Regions from separate parts of the Homo sapiens genome. Here region 2 is linked to region 1. The links are contacts of gene promoters, found by promoter capture Hi-C in blood cells and fetal thymus (Javierre and others, 2016). All regions are on one chromosome and are shown on one strand. The core of a region is centred on a gene start or on the middle of the fragment in contact, and the rest is flanking DNA. Distances in the headings are between cores, read along the strand shown.

Region 1 (2,500 bases), core at 1-2,500:
TTTACTGGAGAAAGCACTTGCTTTTCAGCCCGGAGAAGGCGCCACCAGGAACCTGAGGAATCTGGGAACAGATTTTACTACCTTCCCACGTTTTCCCACCTTTTAAATGACTGGAACTGCTTTCTCCTTTGCTTTTCACTATATAGAACGTATGGCTCTTTATTGAAATACTATTTAAACAAGGTTTCTAAGCCACAGCCTGGAGAGAGAAATACTTTTGAACTGAGGCCTATCCCTTGTGATGAGTAGAGCACACATTAATAAACTGCTTGTTTTTCTTTTGTTAATTTGACGTTTGTTTTCAGGAGAGTGTCAACTAATAACCTAAAAAGGGAAATTTAAAAAAAACTTGTTTTCTCCCCTACAGCTGTATTTCGGGCCCCATTTTCCACTCATGGCCACATCCTGCTTGCAGATCTGCTGCTGGGTTAACACAACATCATCTGCCAGTTGGTGTCGTTTATTTGACATCTTGGGGTTTTAGTACTCTGAAGGACACCCACTGCCCTTAACAGAAAAAATACTGCTGAGCAAAGGGTTTAACAGGACTCTCGGTCTACCAGAAGTTCAGTGCATTTTCCAGGATTTTCAAGGCTTCGATGCTGTCATGTTGTGAGCCCACTATCCACTTGTGTTTTTCCATGAATAATGAAGGAAACCTGAGGAATCATGAATGTAATCATTGAGGTAAAATAACCTAGTCATAGTCAAGAGGACAGCTAGTGTTAAACTCCTTTATATATATTTGAGAAAGGATTTATATATTCATAATAACTTTCTGATCTGGAAAGCCCTAGGTTTGTCAACTATTAATAACTGGGTGAATGCTTCAGGTAGTATTTAAACCAACTGCTATTTCATAGCAGACATTCTCCCATGCAGGAGATGCAGTAAAGTACTGGTAGCAATAGATGCTCCTACCAAGATCTCCCCCTGCAACCGCACAGGAAAGGAGGGAGAAGAAACCACCTTGCTTCTCTCATATTTGACAATCATTCATCGGAATAGAGGTCCCTAATGTCCCACATGTAAGTCTGCTGGTTAAGAAAGTTCTAAGATTGGAACTCCATTCAGATATCAACATTTGTAAGAAAAAAAATTTTAAATATAACTTTGATACAAATTTTACTTTGATTAAGATACCTACAGGAAAGAAACTGTTCATTTTCTCTAACAGGATGGAAAGCAAAAAATATGGGTGGGAGGAGTCTGCACGTTGTTTCACAACTTCTCTCTCCCCAGGGCAAAGCAGAGTATGAGGAAGCCAGCACTAGTCAAGTGACTCTAAGAAGGGCCATTTTCCCTTGTTGTCTTTGAAAATACTTCATTTTCTTAGCATTTCAGGAGATTATAACATCCTGTATTTCAGTTTCTGAGAGCTTTACTGACTGATTTCCCTATTCAAAACAATCCTCATTTCCTACATTTCTGAAGATCTCAAGATCTGGACTACTGTTGAAGAAATTCCCAGTAAGGTGAGTACTGTGGGTATTTTTTATAGAAAAGATCTAGATGCTTCCTTGAAAGCCACAAAATCACAAGGGAAAAATCGATATTGGTTCTTCAGGGCAGTGGGGTGAGGGCAGTAGGGCTGGTATCAACTATATTCAGAAAAGTGAAAACTGCAGTTAATACTTCCAATTCTTTACTTACTTCAAAGATAGTAGATATCCTTTATTCTACAACTGGGGCATGAATGAAGGAATATGCATTTTGACCATTGCAGATTTTAAAACAAATTCTCTGAGTATATATTCTCTGAGGTTAGAAAGCTTGGTGGCCATTGGGGTCTGGGCAAAAGACAAGATAATGATTTCATTCTTTTTTATGGATGCATAGTATTCCACGCTGTATATGCATAACATGGATACGGCTAGAGAACATTACCCTAAGTGAACTAACACAGGAATACCAAATACTGCATGTTCTCACTTATAAGTGGAAGTTAAACATTGAATCCATATGGGCACAAGATGGGAACGGTAGACGCTGGGGACTGCTTGAGAGGAAAGGTGGGAGCAGTATGTGGGTTGGAAGGCTATCTATCTGGTACTATGTCGCTACCTTGGTGATGGGATCACCAGACAACAAGCCTCAGCGACACACAGTTTACTCATTTAACAAGCCTGCACATGTACCCTCTGAACCTAAAATGAAAGTAGAAGATAAAATAAGACAAGATAATGATGTGCACAAAGTATCAGGAAATAATATTAAGTAAAAAACACATCTAGACATACAGCTGTATTTTACGGTATCTCAATTTTACAAAACATGTTCTCACACAAAAACATATGTGAGAACATTTTGTAAATAATATTATTCTACAAGTGCAAACACATAGTAGAAAATGTATCCATTTTGCAAACACAATTATTCAAATAATTCAAATAATTCAAATGTGTCAATATTTTCATAAGTATGTTTAACTTTTACATTAGCATCATTCTATACCAGATGTGAAAGGCAGTTTTTTATTCATTTTAAGATTACTTCCTGC
Region 2 (2,700 bases), core at 142-2,641, 83 kb after region 1:
TTTTTGACGGAGTCTCACTCTGTCACCCAGGCTGGAGTGTAGTGGCACGATCTCCGCTCACTGCAACCTCCGTCTCCTGGGTTCAAGCAATTCTCCTGCCTCAGCCTCCCGAGTAGCTGGGACTGCAAGCGCTTGCCACCACACCTGGCTAATTTTTGGTATTTTTAGTGGAAACGAGGTCTCACTGTGTTAGCCAGGATGCTTTTGATCTCCGGAACTTGTGATTCGACCACCTCGGCCTCCCAACATGCTGGAATTACAGGCGTGAGCCACTGCGCCTGGCCCAATTAATAGCCCCTGAAATTTAGATATCTTGGTTATACACAAAGACATCATTCCTAAAATTAAAAAATTCATTAATTTAAAAGTTTTGGAATCCATACCTTGCACTGTCATCATGGAAGTGTACAGGTGTTAAGAGGTCAAGAGCAGTGACACTCTGTCCATAGGGAGACTCTGAAATCTACCATGAGACAAAGCCTCAGTTGAGTCTTAAGGTTGTATGGGAAGTAGTCAAAGAAAGAAATGTGGGAATGGCTTTCCAGGCAGTAAGAAGGAACTAGCAAAGTCATGAGGCATGAAGACACAAGGTGTCCGGCATCTTTGTGAAGCATAGATACAAGGAGTACAAAGGTACTAGAAGTAAAAAAGATGCAGCTTATTCAACACTTTCTGAGACAGTATAGGAAGCAAGGAATTTTGGGGAAGAAAAAGGAGAAATATTGAAGGATTTCAGTGGAATATAAATGTGGCTTATCGAGAGAAAACTGATTGTGCGAAAAGAAATAATTAGACAAATCAAGTCTGAAAGAAGAAAAATAAAACAACCAATAAAATCATTTCAGTGAATAAATACTGTGATGCTGCACTAGAAAGCATGCAGATTTTCAGCAAAGTTATGGTTTTATGGGTACAGAGAACAGAAGCCATGGTCTAGCACCAAAGAAGGGAGGATGCTAATGAAAGCCAACTAGGGAAGAGTCAAGGAGAATAGGGTCAGTGCCACAGCATGAAACTGTAGCGCTGTAGCAGAAAGTTATTCATATAAGGTGGGAGGCTGCAGCCCATTTACACCTAGGCCGCTCCAGTCATACTGGGTGTGGGAAGATTTAAGAAACAACAGGCAGGATTTGGGGAATAGGCTTCAGCCCCAGTAAAGGATAAGAAGAGGAACCAAGGGCTTTGACACTGCAGAGCTCATACTCTTAACACTGAGGCAATTGCTTGTTCTCAGACCTCCCTCTAACAACTGGACCCAACTCAACTATTCTCATTCAATGGGAATAATTTCTTAGACATTCCTAACCCAGCAGTTCTTCACTCAATTTCTACAGTAACACATTTGGTCGTTGAGTCCTTCTTTATCACACATATTCATGAACAACTCTTTCATATGGGCCACTCACTCACATAGGCATACATCTTTTAAATTGTCTGTATACATGTGTAACACTGTATATACCATTTTCTCTTGTAGGCTCACTTATGTCTGTAAAGATGGGAAAAAAATACAAGAACATTGTTCTACTAAAAGGATTAGAGGTCATCAATGATTATCATTTTAGAATGGTTAAGTCCTTACTGAGCAACGATTTAAAACTTAATTTAAAAATGAGAGAAGAGTATGACAAAATTCAGATTGCTGACTTGATGGAAGAAAAGTTCCGAGGTGATGCTGGTTTGGGCAAACTAATAAAAATTTTCGAAGATATACCAACGCTTGAAGACCTGGCTGAAACTCTTAAAAAAGAAAAGTTAAAAGGTAATTGGGAAGAGGGAACACCCACTCCCTGCAACCATCCCCAAACCCTCCCCAACATTGATTAGAGCCCCACCTCGGACATACTTGAGATGTGTTTTCCCCAGTTTGTGACTCAACAGCTGAGACAATGTTGGTACTTCAGAGGCCAACAAGTTGACAACTTAGTGCATTCCATTACTGGTGTAGATTGAAGTATTTCAGAATGTATATTTGGGATCAGTGAAAGAACAAAAGTGAGAGGGAGTTGAAGGGGGACTGAGACTTCCAGTACATTAGAAAGATTATATAATAATAAAATCATAAAAACTGTTTAAATTCAAGATATGTACATTTAGCCAATGAATGTATCTGTTCTATTGAGACCATTTAACCCATCACTACCCTTTATAATTTAAAAAAATGCAATACTTACATGTGAGCCTGCCTCTCAGAAGTGTGATCTCCTCTCTTGTTATATCAAGTTAAAAAAAAGGATTTGAAAAAGTCTAAGTCCAAAATCAGTATATCCTTCCTCATGGAAACCTTTGGCTGGTTTCTATAATTTGAATATCTTTACCTGGGGAATGTGACCTAGCAGTCTCCATCATGAAAACATTAGTTTTTAAAACAAAATGATCGGAGAACCGCATTGGGAAAGGGTTAACTGAAGCACATGGAGTTCAGAGAACAGGAAGCATGTGCTCAGTGCACAGGGGAGGAGTGAGGAAAGTGCTGAGGAGCATGAGTCAGTGCTTGTTCCTGTCTTGTGACTGCTGGTCTCCTTAAGGCCAGGCTGGGCTAATGCAGTAGAGCTAGACTAAAGCACAGCTGAACCCTCAAGCAGGAACTGAGAGCAAATTGTATTGAAACTGCTTCAGCTGTCGGAGATCGTTTATATGTCTTCCTTTTTTCTGCATTGGTTGGGAATAAAATTGAATCTATTCCAGTAAAAGGACCAG

Evidence for each region. Contacts are between HindIII fragments. The CHiCAGO score rates a contact against its expected background, and 5 or more counts as called.
Region 2: a contact is called between a fragment that was not itself captured here and the fragment with the promoter of PYHIN1 in region 1, in 1 of 17 cell types (non-activated CD4 T cells). The highest score is 5.1, in non-activated CD4 T cells.

What each region holds. Positions count from the first base shown.
Region 1 is chr1:158,930,302-158,932,801 of GRCh38, forward strand. PYHIN1 (pyrin and HIN domain family member 1) reads left to right here and starts at 1,251. Exons shown (of 9, transcript NM_152501.5): 1 at 1,251-1,475. The HindIII fragment of the contact is 3,309 bases long and covers 1-1,770 here.
Region 2 is chr1:159,013,184-159,015,883 of GRCh38, forward strand. It overlaps IFI16 (interferon gamma inducible protein 16), which reads left to right. Exons shown (of 12, transcript NM_001376587.1): 2 at 1,478-1,762; 3 at 2,689-2,700. The coding sequence starts at 1,498. LOC124904432 (a long non-coding RNA gene) reads right to left here and starts at 867. Exons shown (of 2, transcript XR_007066671.1): 1 at 384-867; 2 at 1-297. RefSeq lists an enhancer at 1,834-2,700. The HindIII fragment of the contact is 2,831 bases long and covers 1-2,700 here.